Regions from separate parts of the Homo sapiens genome. Here regions 2, 3 and 4 are each linked to region 1. Evidence: promoter capture Hi-C in human tissues and cell types (Jung and others, 2019). All regions are on one chromosome and are shown on one strand. Each heading gives the region's core, a stretch centred on a gene start or on the middle of the fragment in contact. The rest is flanking DNA. Distances are from core to core; before and after follow the strand shown.

Region 1 (3,625 bases), core at 748-3,247:
GGGGCCACGTTCCTTGACAACTTCTGTGTTTCTTTCACCCTGTAGTGTCGAGCGAGGCAAAGTTCCCCTGTGTGCAGTCGTGGCCGCTGTGGTCAGTCTGGGGTGCTGTTACACCTTCTCAACCCCACTTCCTAAAAAAACAAATGCGGCTCCCTCAGGTGGGAGGGGAGAGCTTTCTCCTTGGTTTGGCTTTAAAATGATGGCAACTCCCAAAAATGGAAAGCAGGGGCTCAAACAGGTATTTGTATACCAATGTTAACCGACATTCTTCACAATAGCCAAAAGGTGGAAACAACCTAAGTCCATTGACAGATGAATGGATAAAAACGAGGTGGTGTATGCACACGACGAAATATTTTTCAGTCTTAAAAATGAGTGAAATTTGGACTCATGCTACAACATGGAGAAACCTTGAGGACATTATGCTACGTGAAATAAGCCAGACAAATACTGTATGATTCCACTGACATGAGGAACCAGGAATAGTCAAATTCATAGTCAGAAAGTAGAAATGGTGGTTCCCAGGGACTAGGAGAGAAGGGAATCCCGACTTATTGTTTCATAGACACAAAGTTTCAGTTTGGTAAGATAAAAGAGTTCCGGAGACCCATAGTGGTGCTGGTTGCACAACAATGTGAGTATACAGAATGCCACTGAATTGTACACTAAAAATGGTTAAAATGGCAAATTTTGTTATATTTTACCACAACAAAAAAAGTGATATAAGTAAAAGCAGTCAGGCTGGACGTGGTGGCTCACGCTTGTAATCTCAGCACTTTGGGAGGCTGAGGCGGGTGGATCATCTGAGGTCGGGAGTTAGAGACCAGCCTGGCCAAGATGGTGAAACCCCGTCTATACTAAAAATACAAAAAATTAGCCGGGCATGGTGGCCGGCTCCTGCAATCCCAGCTACTCACAAGGCTGAGGCAGGAGAATTGCTTGAAGCCGGGAGGCGGAGGCTGCAATGAGCCGAGATCACACCATTGCATCCCAGCCTGGGCGACAAGAGCGAAACTCTGTAACAACATCAACAACAACAACAAAACAAAAACAAAAACAAAAAAGAAAACAAGAGACGCGGTGGTTCTGCTTGTAATCCTAGTACTTTGGGAGGCCGAGGCTGGCAGATTACCTGAGGTCAGGAGTTTGAGAACAGCCTCGGCAACATGGCGAAACCACGTTTCTACGAGAAACACAAAACTTAGCCGGGAGTGGTGGTACATTCGTGTAGTCTCAGCTACTCGGGAGGTTGGGGTGGGAGGATCCCTTGAGCTCTGGAAGTTGAGGCTGCTGCAGTGAGCCGGGATCGCGCCACTGCACTCCAGCCTGGGCGACAGAGAGAGACCCTGTCTAAAAAAAAAAAAAAAAAAGAAAAAAAGAAAAGAAAAAGAAAAAATCGTTAATATCCTCAACTCGAGTGGGAATCTATAGGGGGCTTACCCATGCCCATGACTTCCCCATCCCATCGGGAGCTCCCTGAGAACAGGGAAAAGTGCCTCCCCTCTTATCTGGGGGCGCTCAAAGGACCAGCAGAGGGTTTCTTCAGCGGAACACTCTCTGCTCCCCTAGGGCCTGGGCTGCTCACATCCATCGCACTGAGGAGGGTCCCATCCATTGCACTGAGGAGGGTCCCATCCATTGCACTGAGGAGGGTCCCACTGGGGGGCTCCTCCTCCGTCCTATCGAGAGTTATCCCAGCGAGTGTTGGCGGGGACTGAGCCTCCTGCTTGAGGTAGTTGTTTTTACTCCCAGTCCCCAGGCTCACGAGCCCCACGCGCGCTCAATCTGCCCTCCCGCTTCTCCTCGCCACTCCGAGTTCTGCGCCCTCGAGATCCAGCGCATCCGCGGGGTGGGCGGGTCCTGGCGGCTCTTTGCCCTCTTCCAACATGGCCGCCGCTGCCTCTGTGACAGGCAGGGTCACGTGGGCAGCCTCGCCTATGAGGTCGCTGGGGCTCGGCCGGCGATTGTCCCTTCCCGGACCCCGTCTCGATGCGGTGACTGCCGCTGTCAACCCGAGCCTGAGCGATCATGGCAACGGGCTCGGGCGGGGAACGCGTGGCAGCGGCTGCAGCGGCGGCAGTTTGGTGGCGGACTGGGGCGGCGGAGCGGCGGCGGCGGCGGCGGTGGCACTGGCACTGGCCCCGGCCCTGAGCACCATGCGGCGGGGCAGCTCCGAGAGCGAGCTGGCGGCCCGGTGGGAGGCGGAGGCGGTGGCTGCGGCCAAAGCGGCGGCCAAAGCTGAGGCCGAGGCCACAGCGGAGACGGTGGCGGAACAGGTCCGCGTGGACGCGGGCGCGGCCGGGGAACCGGAGTGCAAGGCAGGGGAGGAGCAGCCCAAGGTCCTGGCCCCGGCCCCGGCGCAGCCCAGTGCGGCTGAGGAGGGGAACACCCAGGTCCTTCAGCGGCCGCCGCCCACGCTGCCCCCGTCCAAGCCGAAGCCGGTGCAGGGCCTCTGCCCGCACGGGAAGCCCCGGGACAAGGGCCGAAGCTGCAAGCGGAGCTCGGGCCACGGTTCCGGCGAGAACGGCTCCCAGCGGCCGGTCACCGTGGACAGCTCCAAGGCCAGGACCTCCCTGGATGCCCTGAAGATCAGCATCCGCCAGCTCAAGTGGAAGGAGGTGAGGCCCGGCCCGACCCGGCCGCGTGGGCACAGTGGGGTGGACAGGACGACCTCAGAGGTCTCGGCACGGCCCAGGTCAGGTCGGCGGGCGAGGGCTGAGCTCCTGCGGTGCACCACGCTCGGGCCTGCTTGTCAGCCGCAAAGTGCTCATCCTTCAAGGCCTACCCCCCAAAATCACTTCCTCCAAGAGGGCCCCCCAGACCCCTCCAGGTCAAGTTAGCCACTCACTCCTCTGCCTCCCTGCAGCTCTTTTTATGTCTCAGCCATCAGCATTTGCCTCTGCTTGTAGATATGTGTACGTCTGTCTCCTCCACCAGCTTGTAAGCCCCTGGGGCCCCGGACCCGCTCTCTCACTTCTTCATTGAAGTTATATTTGTTTAGCACTTGCTGTGTGACTCTTGGGCAGAGGAACACTTTTTATTTTGGAGGCAGACAGGCCTAGGGTCTCACTACACTTTGCTACTTAGCTGTGTGACCTTGAGTAAGTTGCTTCACCTCTTCAGCCTATTACCTTCTCTGTAAAGTGAGGCCAATTATACTTATCTCATCATCTTGTTAGCATTAGAAGACTCACTACTTAGTGTTTTATAGCACAAGTCTGCAATAAATGGTAACTTACGTTACCACCTTCTCCTTTCTCTCTTCTTCCACCATCATCACCATCACCACCACCAGCACCACCACTGTCCTCATGATCAGTGGTATAAAATCAGGCACTGTATTTTATATTCCAGGCTTGGCTTACGGCATGTGTCAGTAAGCAGTGAATGAAAGGGTGAATGAATACATGAGTTATCATCCCTGAGCCCATTTTAGACTGGCAGGGGATGGAATGTAGCACCAGTGACTCTAGAGGTGTCTGTTGCAATTGGCTACGTGGATAAAGCCATTTGACTTTATTTGCAGCATATAAGGTATTTAATGTGCTTTCAGGAGTGTCAGGAGTTTGATTAAGGATAGCTGAGTGTGGACACAGCCAGTGGTAACAGGGATCTGCTGCGGGTA
Region 2 (3,625 bases), core at 382-2,881, 390 kb after region 1:
TGGCCTTCTAAAATAGCCATTAATTAGAGCCTGGTAATTAACTTACTGGTTCAAGTAATATTTTGCAAAGGAATTCCATTAAAGAGTCGATTTGCATATTCTAATATGGGGCCTGGAAATAGGCAGGGCTACCTGGAGGAGAATGAAAGCAGTCCCATGGCACCTGTCAGGCCTGGCACCTGGGCCTGGGCTCTGCCTGGTAACCGAAGGTGAGAGGGGAGGCAAAGAGTTGCTCTCTGGGAAGTTCTCCCCAAGAAGGTGGGGAGCTTATTCACACACCGGCCAGCTCAGTGTCCATGCACCCAGACAGAAAGTGCACACATGCACACAAGTATGCACGTGAGTGCTCACAGAACACACTATACACATGGGCACAACAGGGTATACGTACACAGACATGTACAAACAACTGGCAGATGCATACCCAAGAAGAAAACACACGATAATAACAATAGTAGCCAACACTTAACCTGAACACATAGATTGAATCATATGCAATTGCCTGTATTTGGCCTCCCAAAACAGCAACTTTATACAGTCTCACCCCATATGATGTACCAGGCACTGTTCCAAATACTTCACCTGTATTAACTCAATTAAATGCACAGACATGTATAAGGACATTAACATATAATGTACACACATCTTCATGAGGACAGGTGCACACTTGCAACACATACAAAAGACGTACACAGACAAACATATGCTTGTGCAAAGAAAGGCTTCTCCAGCCTTTGAAACCCCAGCCTTGCTGATCCCATTCTCACTAGCTAATTTCCACCGTTCCTAAAAACATTGCCCAGCTCAGATCTTGGGAAGGTACACAAGGGAGCTCCAGATCTAAAGGAGAGTAATAAAAATGAGAAAGCAAAAAATAAATTGATTCTTCTATACGTCCAGGTCGTATTCTGTGGCTCTCCCCTTCCTCTCTAGAGATGAGACTCAGAATCATGTGCTCCTGGGCCGGTCAGCCCTGCCCCCAAAGGTGCCCATGGGGCTCAAGTACAATGCTGCAGTTGAGAGGGGATCTGGTTCCAATGCCTGGCTTCTGCATAGGCCCCAGCTCCATGCCTTTGACTGTGTGCCTCAGTTTTCCTGGCCATAGAGCAGCCCTTTCACTGCCTACCTACCCTACAGGGCAGAAGACCTCTTAAAGTGCTGTGTAAATACAGGGCATCCTTATGAATGATAGGATTAGGAATTAAACCTGATTTCCTTATGGAGAGGAGAGGACGGGAGGAAGGTGGAAAGAAGAAGGGAGGGGGAGGAGGAGAGGACAGCCAGGTGAGCCTTCCTTACAGGTAATTAATGAATTCCTTGTCATACCTCTTGGAAGGCAGAGGCTCATTTAACGTGTAGGATCCACCTACATGGGACCTCTCAGAGCTGAGGAAGACCAAACAGGGCAACCAAGAATCCTGCAAGAGGCTTGTCAGAACACTCAGGCAAAGGACAGGAATAGACAAGTCTCAAAAGAAGCACTGCCACTGGCCATGAAACTCAGGAAAGCACTATTCGATCACCAACAAGCAAATGAATGCAAATAACAAAAAAATGCCCTTTTTCTGCCTATCCAAACGATAAAGACTGCTTTAATGATGACATCCAATGTTTTGAAGGGTGTGAGGAAACAGGTAAGCACTCTCAAAAATCACTGGGGAGGGGTATGAATTATTACAGGATTTTGGTGGGTGACATTTTTCTAAGAAAAATCTCAAACTCTTCATATTTTTAGACCTAGTAATTCTGTTTCTAAGACTTTATCCTTTGGGAAAAATCAGAAATGTAGGCAAAGATAAATATTCAAGGATTTAAATCCCAGTGTCATTTTTAATAAAGAAAACCTAGACATAACCTAAATGCCTAAATGATTAAAAACAAGTATGACCCAAACGGAAGATGGAACAATGAACTTTTAAAACTGATTATTAAAACACACATGAGAGCTTTGCTTTCCCAGGTGTAAGCAGGAATCCCTAGGAAAACATCCTGTGCTCTAGGTAATAATGGCTGTTTCTTAAGTTTAAGGCAATAATGACCCATCTTAAGCTCGAATCACCTTACCAGGCACAGCAACATCTATTATCTCTTGAACCTCAGGATGAGGCCACATGATTGCTTATTATTCCCACACTGTGGATGAGAAAACTGAGGCTTACCAAGACGAGGTGACTTAACCCTACCAATATTAACTGAAAACCTATGACATATTAATCTAACCTCTTTCACACATTATTTAATTAAATTTTAGAAACATTTAAGAAATGTGCAAGACCCAGTGTTAAATGCTAAGAAAACAGCACTGAACCAGAAAATTTCTATGAAAAGTGTGCTAAATGTATTAATGTTAATGTCTTCAACAACATGATTATCATGATGCCCATTCTGCAGATGAGCAAACTGAGGCTGCAAAAGGTTACGTGACTTGCCCCAGGAATGCTTGGCTTCAAATCCAAAGATCACATACATCCCATGACTCCTGGCAATTGTCTAAACTGCACTATCATCTTGACATCACCACACTAGACAGACTAGTCCCCAAAAAAAGGACCAGGCCCTCCCTGTCTATAGTAGGGGAGGGAACAAGGGCAAGAAACACCAGACTTGGGTGCCCAGTCCTGCCTGCACTTACTGTCAGCAACTAAAGCAGGAAAATAGACCCTAACTTCCATTTCCCCTGTTCCTCATCAACCTTCCTCACTCTCCCTCCTCCAGGGACTGTCTCACCACAAGGGGCAGAATTGATTCCTGCCTACCCAGGTCCAGGTGAGGGTCCCTGGAAGCTGCCATCCCCAACATCCAAGTACTGTATCTCCTTCCCTAGTCCCTTATCACTTGGAATTCCACCATTAGTAACTTTCAGGTGTGGGAACGCCAGCCAGCACACACATACTCTGGAAGGGGGAATCGATCCCTAACTCCACACATAGCAGCCTTGCCTACCTGCCCCAGAGCTGCCTGCATTTATGAGCTAAGCTCCGCACCAGGATGACTGGGAAGAGCTTGATGGGGGTACAGACACTTTAGAGTAACTACTGTGGTAAGTTTAGACAGGTAGCATGCCAAAGGAAGCATATTCCCAGCAGGTGTGGAGGGCTAGAGTCACCCAGAAACAGCATCAGGAGAGAGAAGGAATGAGGAAAGCATAATATTGCCAACTGACCCTCCTAGCTCCTCAGTAACATTAATAAATAAATGAATGACTTGGAAATTATCCTCTGGGCTGACAGAACCACATCCTCTATATCACTTTTACCAACATTAAAACAGCCCTGTAAATGAAGCAGCAGCATTTCCAGTGTGCAAAATGAAAATGCTTTTGCCGGCACACCTTTCACCTGGAAAGCGCTCCAAGCAGCATGTGTTTGTTACCCAGGAGAAATGATCACCTGTCCTTGGTGCTTACTGCCAAAGCTTCTGAAGAAGAAATGAGTGTCTGAGGGACCCAGAGACTGTGGAGACCAGCTGGCAACCTCCCCTGAGGCCGTTTCAGAAGAATAAGTCCGAAGGCTCAAGCCTGTCCTACAGCCCCCAGCCCCCAGAGCCCAGCTGTGCCAACCAAGCACTGCCTGGCCTGACCCCAGCCTCACAACCAGATAGCAACCCTCAATCCCAACCAGCCAGG
Region 3 (3,625 bases), core at 591-3,090, 350 kb after region 1:
AGCAAGTCTGCTGGGTGAGTAGGAGGGGCAGAGCAGGAGGGAAGCGAGAGCCTAAAGCCACACAGGCTGTCAGGAGGCAGCATAAGTGGCTTTGCCTCTCCGGGAGGGGCCCTGCCTCCAGACCTCTCTGGGTTTGTCTTCCATGCTCACGTGTGGTCATGGCATGTGATCCGGCTGAGCTCACCTTACCTATGGGGAGTTCTGCATCAGCCATAGGGCCACCCTACACGCCTGTTGCAGAAACAGCCTCCCCAAAAGCTACAGGCTTTGCCGCAAGCATCCCCAAGGTTTGACAAGGTTCAAGGCTTGCCTCATCCTATCTTCCTGGAGCCGAATGCATCTGGTGCGCATGTGGGGAGAGGAGGGGGTGTCGAGCATCAGAGGAAACAGGTGGGTGGGAGGCAGAAGGAATGCCTTGGAGCCCTGGCAGAACATCTGGCCACTATTCTTGAGAGGTAGTAGGAGACCTGGGTGCCTTAACCTCCACCCTTACTACCTCACCCCCAGGATTAGTCAGTAAGAAGAGGCCCAATTTGGGGGTTTTGCAGGCCCAGGCTCCAATTCTGGTCGTGTCATTTAGCAACTGTGGAACCCTGGACAAATCCTTTTACTTTCCTGAGTCTCAGTTTCCTCATGTATAAAATGAGGTAATACACTATCCCCTGCAGATAACAGATGTAAAAACACTGGTTAACCAGGAAAAGCATTTAACAAAGCAACTGGGAACCCCAAACTCAAATATCTGAGTGCCATTCATTCAACAGACACTGAAACCCACCAGGCGTCTAGCAGACATTATGTTATCTCCAGCTGTGTATGCCAACCCTGCACCCTCAAGCCGATGCATTCTGAACCCTCCCCAGAGCCAGCAAAAAGTCTTGGGGCAGGGTTGTTGGGGGTGAGGGTTAGAGCTCCTGGCCACCAAAATATTGTGTAAAACATCTCAAACTTCTCCAGAAGCCAAACACATAAAGGAGCCTTCCAGAGAAATACCCTTGGTGTAAAGGAAGTCTAGCTCTGCTCTGGGAAAGACACTTGAGGTAAGCCAGGCTCCAGGATACTCTTATTTAGGGGCCGTGGACCCAGAGAGACTGGTGTAAGGAAAGGGGCTGACGGGGGGAACACAGGGTCAACAGACTCAGCATTCAGTCCAAAAACGTGACAGGGCACAGTGAGCAAGCCTTCCAGAGAGTGGGTGGAGAGGGCTCAGAGAGCTGGGAAAGATCACTGTGGGGGGCCTATCGGCGCTCCTGAATCAGAATCTCCAGGCTGAGATCCACTGGGTCAGCTGCTGCTGGTAAACCTACGCTGTGGACAGAGAACATTCAGGCCCCTCCCTGGCCCTCCCCTCCTCAACATCCTGGGCCAGCTGGGTCCTCACGCACTTCTTTGCTCACTGCTGTCCCCGCCACCTTCTCACCTCCTTTTCCTACTCAACACACCTGTCTGTTCCGACCCCACTGGGTCTCCTTGAGGACACCAAAGGCCTTCATGTTGCCAAAGTCAACCAGTTTCTGTGCCTTACTACCCCGTGAACCCAGGCCACCCTGCTCCAGCTTTCCTCTGTTCTCACAGGCTGCTAGCACCTCACCTCCTTTCCTCCCAGTGCTGGAGCTCCTCAGGGCTGTTTCGGAGACACTTCCTTAGCACAACACTTTCCTTTGGTGATTCTTTCCACTCCCATAGCTCTAAATACCTCCAGCATGCTCACGACTCCTAAGTGCATCCCCAGCCCTATCCTCCTCTGAGCTCCGGACCCATGTGTCTCCATGCTTGCCTGACAGCGCCTCTGGGACACCTCTCGGAGCTTCACGTCTGAAATGTCCAGCGTGGAGCCTCAGTAGCAAAGCCAGGAGCCCTTCCTTTCCCTGGCCTTTGGAATCCAATCCAACACAAATCCTGCTGCTACCCCCTCTGAAATCCCTCATACCTGTTTACTCCTCTCCATCTTCCCCAGGCAGCCTGCTGTCCGGGCAGCCTCCCCAACCACTGGGCTTCCCCTTACCCCTACCAGGGGAGTCAGAGGGACCCTTCAGAAATGCAAATCAGATTACTGAACTCCTCACCTTAAAAGCCTTCAATTACTCCCCACTGCACTGAATAAATCTGAACTGCTACCCAGGTGAAAGACATTGGCAGTCATGACCTACCTACTCTCTGACCTCATCCAGCAACACCCAACGCCCCCCACCACACACACCAAAGTCTCTGTTTCCTGCTCAAGGACTTTGTACTTGCTGCTCCCTAGGCTAGGAGTTCTTGCTCCAGCACACTCTAACAGCAAACTGGCAGGCTTCTGGCATCTTCTGCAACTCAATCCTTCCCTGACTGCTCCATCTACAACAGGTCCTGCCCTGCCCCCATTACTCCCTAGTGGAACACTTGGCTTGTTTCCTTCATAGCATCTTGCTCATGCAGCTAGCAAATATTTAAGTGCAAACTATGTGCCAAGCACTATTTAGGCACTGGGAACACAGGTGCTGAACAAAGCAGACAGAAATTCCCTGACTCACATTTCAGTAGGGGAACTTCACTATGTTTCCCAAAGCAGAATCACTTTGTTTCTCTGCTTATTTCTTATCTGCCTCTCCCATCACAAGGTAAGCTGTGTGTGGCCAAGCTCTACGTGTTGTATTTCTGTGTCTTAAGAGAGGGTCTGACACAGTATAAGAGCTCAGTAAGTCCTGATGAAATCAAGATGCAAAAACAAAGACCAGAGCAGCCAAAGAACCAAACCCCAAACCCTGAGAGACACAAGAAATCAAGAGCCAGGTCTTGAATGCCTCCCATGGCGTCTCTCCCTAACCCTGGGGACCTCAGGTGGGAAGGAAAGCTTCTGTGACAGCCCAGCCTTCTGGGGTCAGACAGAGGCACATGTGGCAGTTTCGTTTAACTGCTCTGGAACAGGTGGATGACTGCAGGCCTGAGAAGTTAGGGAGGCTTCTTGAAGAGGCTAGATCTGAACAAGGCCAACCCACAACTCCCTCCCAGATCTAGGGAGGAGGAAAACACATTTGTGTTTTAGGGCTCTGATGTCTGATGTTCTTTGCTCTAGCAGGAAAGAAGAAAAAAAAACCCTTTACTTTTATTAGTGTCTGGATCAATAAAAGTTTTAGAAGTAAAGCTTCCCTCCTGCAATACTAACTGAGAGAGAGAGAGACAGACATGGATTATTAAATCTGTCTCAGAGAGGCAGGGCTGGGAGAGCGCGAGGGCACAGGGGCACCGGCAGTTTCCCCCTCACCTGTGCTGGGAGCCTCTGGCTAAAGGCCCTCATTAGCCCTGCAGCCTAGGGTCAAGGCCCGTTCCTCACAGCTCACCCACCAAATGCTGGTTCCCTGAGCCTAGGTCAGCAGCCAGGCCGCTGGACACCCACCTTCCAGGTGCCCCACAACCTTGCCTGCTTGGCCTTCTCTGAGCTGTGCCCTAAAGCTTCCCCCCAGCCCACCTCCCCACCTCCAGGTTGGAAGCTCCAGGAGGGCAGGGCTTGCTTCCCTGGAGGAGGAACCAGTTTAGCAACCCCAGCCCCCACCTTCACTCTTCCTCCCATGTCCAAGGGAGTCCCCCATTCAGTCCCCCAAGCCTTGCACTTTCACAGCACACCAACAAGCCCTGCCCACTGAGG
Region 4 (3,625 bases), core at 443-2,942, 300 kb before region 1:
TTCTTTTTAATTATTTCAATATCTTGGTTAAATTGATCTGATAGGATTCTGAATTCCTTCTCTGTATTATCTTGTATTTCACTGAGTTTCCTCAAAATAGCTATTTCAAATTCTCTGTCTGAAAAGCCTAGAGGTGTAGATATATGACCTCTCTCTGAGAGATAGAGAAAGATCACATATTTCTATCTCTCTAGGATAAATCCCTGATGACTTATTTAGTTTGTTTAGTAAGGTCATGTTTTCTTGAGTGGTATTGATGCTTGTGGATGTTCACTGGTGTCTGGACATTGAAAAGTTAGATATTTGTGGTAGTCTTTGCAGTCTGGGCTTCTTGGGAAAGCCTTCTTGGGAAGGCTTTCCAGGTATTCGAAGGGACTTGGGTGTTGTCATCTAAGTTTTTGGTCACCATAGTCATATCAGCATTAGGAGGCACCCCAAGCCCAGTAATGCTGTGGCTCTTGCAGACTTGTAGAGGTACCACTTGATGGTCTTGGATAAGATCTGGAAGAATTGTCTGGATTACCAGGCAGATATTCTTGTTCTCTTCCCTTACTTTCTCCCAAACAGACAGAGTCTCTCTGTCTCTGTGCTGAGCTGCCTACAACTGGGGGAGGGGTGGCACAAGCACCCCTGTGGCCACCACCACTGGGACTGCACTAGGTCAGACCTGAAGCCAGCACAGCACTGTTTCTTACCCAAGGCCCATTATAACCACTACCTGGCTACCACCACCTTTGTTTACTCAAGGCTTTAGGGCTTTGCAGTTAGCAGGCAGTAAGTCAGCCAAGCTTGTGTCCTTCCCTTCAGGGCAGCGAGTTCCCCCAAGCAGGTCCGTAGATGCTGTTTGGGGACCAGAGCCTGGAGTTGAAAATCTTAAGAATCTGCCTTGTGTTCTATTCTACTGCAGCTGAGCTGCAGACAAAGCTACAAGTCAAGTCTTTCCCACTCATCCCTCCCCTTCCCACAGGCAGAGGAGTCTCTCCCCATGGCCAGCACCACCACAGGCCCATGGGGAGTACTGCCTGGCTACCACCAATGTTCACACAAGGCCAAGAGCTCTTCAGGAAGCTTGTGGTGAATGCTGCCAGACCTAGGACTCACGTATCAGGGCAGTGGTCTCCCCTCTGGCCCAGGTCAGGTCCAGAAATGCTGTGCGAGAGCCAAGGCCTGGAATCAGGGATACTGAGAGCCCACTTGGTGCTCTGCCCCACTGTGGCCGAGCTAGTACCTAAGCTGCAAGATGAAATCCCCTTTACTTTTCCCCCTGCTTTTCTCAAGTAGAAGGAGTCTCTCCCCATAGCCACCACAGCTGGGAATGTGCTGGGTCACACCTGAAGTCAGCACATCTCAGAATCTCACTCAAGGGCCATAGTGTGTACTACCTGGCTACTGCTGCTGATTATTCAGGGCCCAAGGGCACTTTAGTCAGCAGGTGGTGAATACTATCAGGACTAGATCCTTTCATTCAAGGCAACAGGTTCCCTTCTGCCTTATATGGCCCATATAAGCCCAGGATATGTCTAGAAATGTCATCTGGAAGTTAGGTCCTGGAATGGGTGCCTCAGGACTCTGCCCGGTGCCCTAAACTACTGTGGCTGAGCTGGTATCCAAGTGGCAAGACAAGTCCTCTTTACTCTTCTCTCCTCAAGCTGAAGGAAGGAGTCTCTTTGAGAGCTGTGAGTTGCACTGCCTAGGGTTGGGAGAGGGGTGGCACAAGCACTCCCTTGGCTATCGCAGCAGGTCACATGCCCCTCAAGTCCACTGGCTCCAAGCGCAGATCAGACTTTCCTAGGAGTTGTAATCCTTGTGGCCTATACTGCCTTTCAAGTTTATTTAGAACCCCAGAGCCCTTTAGCCCATTCAGCAACTGGGATGGATGCTTCCCCTCTGGCTAGGGCTGATCTAAATTCTCCCTCATGGGTATTAGCTGAGTTCTGCCTGGTGTTGCTTTCCAGTGTAACAAGGCAACACTGAGTTCTAACACAAAGTCCTACAACCACTACACTCTCCCTACACAGATTCTCTGTGCCATGTGGCTGCTGCCAGGGATCGGGGAGGGATGGCTCTGGCAATTCAAGACCATCCTTCCTACCCTCCTCAGTGCCTCTTTCAGTAATATAAAGTTAAAACCAGGTACTACAATCATTCACTTGAATTTTGGTTCTAATGAAGGTGCATTTTTTGTGTAGACAGTTGTTAAATTTGGTGTTCCTGTGGGGAAGACAATTGGTAGAAGCTTCTATTCTGCCTTCTTGCTCTGCCTCCTGCGTTTCTGACACTTTTTTTAACTCAAAAATTACTAAAAGAGTGGACTGTGTGTACCCAACAGTCTTTGTTTCTCTGTTGTTCTATAATTACATAACTTCACTTCTTAAGCTCTTTGCTTGCAACTATATCGAGCTGCTACCAGGTCAACAGTAAGGCCATTGTGATGGTCTTTGTAACATTCTAGGGATAGGGCCCACAGAGGCAGAACAGAACTAAGAAAATTCAGATTCACTGAAGCAGACTTTCCACGTTTCCCAGCCCCTTTGAACACCTTCCCTATGTATGAGGAATTTTCCTTATCATGGGTTCCTCCTTTTCAAGGCACAAACCAGAAAACTCACTTTCCATTCTTTCTTGTAGCTGCAGTACAGACACATGAGCTGGGCTCCACCAATCCGACACAAAATAAAGATAATTTTAATTCTAAGTAGAGAAAAGAGAGGAAGCAAGTATCACACAGATTCCATTTTCCAGCAAAAGTGGCTGTAGAAGCAGCCTGTTTTGGAAGGCAGCAGTAGTGGGGTTTGGGCAGCAAAGGTGTCATTTGAGATGCTGTGTCCATGGCAGTAGTAGAGGCATCTCCACTGGACAGTGGCCACCATTCCTAGGTGCAAACCCTCCAAGCCTAATTCCCTGGTCCTCCCAGTGGCTCCATGAGCTATGTAATGTCCTATAATAAATTCCTTCCTGCTTATACAGGCTAGAGAATGTTCTGTTGTTTGCATTGAGAGTCCTGAATGAATCACCCATTGTATTAGTCGGGGTTCTCCAGAGAATTAGAACCAACAGAATATATGTATATTATTATTATTATTATTATTATTATTATTATTTGATTTCCAATAATCAAATAATACAGTGGTTTGTGTATTATTTGATTATTGGAACTTGAATAATAATATACATATATTGGTTACACGTGTAGGATGTGCAGGTTTGTTACACAGGTAAACGTGTGCCATGGTAGTTTGCTGCACAGATCATCCCATCAGCTAGGTATTAACATTAGCTATTCTTCCTGATGGCCCACCTCCCACCCTCCGACAGGCCTCAGCATGTGTTGTTCCCCACCATATGTCCACGTATTCTCATCATTCATCTCCCACGCATAAGTGAGAACATGCAGTATTTGGTTTTCTGTTCTTGTATTATTAGAGAGATAGAAATATATATATATATATATATTCAGTCTTGAATATATAGAGAGAGAGTCAGTCTTGAATATATATATATAGTCAGTCTTGAATATATATATAGTCAGTCTTGAATATATATAGTCAGCCTTGAATATATATATAGTCAGTCTTGAATATATATATATAGTCTTGTATATGTATATATATATTCAGTCTTGTAT

What was found. The method cuts DNA at HindIII sites, captures the fragments that hold promoters and counts their contacts. A contact is called where the count stands out against the background at its distance.
Region 2: a fragment that was not itself captured here is called in contact with the fragment with the promoter of TTLL11 in region 1 in 1 of the 25 tissues and cell types used here (pancreas).
Region 3: a contact is called between a fragment that was not itself captured here and the fragment with the promoter of TTLL11 in region 1, in 1 of the 25 tissues and cell types used here (dorsolateral prefrontal cortex).
Region 4: a contact is called between a fragment that was not itself captured here and the fragment with the promoter of TTLL11 in region 1, in 1 of the 25 tissues and cell types used here (lymphoblastoid cells).

Annotation. Positions count from the first base shown.
Region 1 is chr9:122,091,680-122,095,304 of GRCh38, reverse strand. TTLL11 (tubulin tyrosine ligase like 11) reads left to right here and starts at 1,997. Exons shown (of 9, transcript NM_001139442.2): 1 at 1,997-2,618. The coding sequence starts at 2,157. LOC124902263 (a long non-coding RNA gene) reads right to left here and starts at 1,173. Exons shown (of 2, transcript XR_007061757.1): 1 at 1,133-1,173; 2 at 1-131. RefSeq lists enhancers at 1,817-2,006, 1,756-2,469 and a silencer at 2,357-2,406. The HindIII fragment of the contact is 16,076 bases long and covers 1-3,625 here.
Region 2 is chr9:121,702,315-121,705,939 of GRCh38, reverse strand. All of the region lies in intron 3 of DAB2IP (DAB2 interacting protein), which reads right to left. Among named protein-coding and RNA genes, the nearest start is that of DAB2IP, 52 kb to the right of the region's middle. The HindIII fragment of the contact is 7,572 bases long and covers 1-3,625 here.
Region 3 is chr9:121,737,872-121,741,496 of GRCh38, reverse strand. All of the region lies in intron 3 of DAB2IP (DAB2 interacting protein), which reads right to left. Among named protein-coding and RNA genes, the nearest start is that of DAB2IP, 88 kb to the right of the region's middle. RefSeq lists an enhancer at 2,852-3,625. The HindIII fragment of the contact is 7,838 bases long and covers 1-3,625 here.
Region 4 is chr9:122,396,160-122,399,784 of GRCh38, reverse strand. No RefSeq gene overlaps it. Among named protein-coding and RNA genes, the nearest start is that of PTGS1, 27 kb to the right of the region's middle. The HindIII fragment of the contact is 3,359 bases long and covers 13-3,371 here.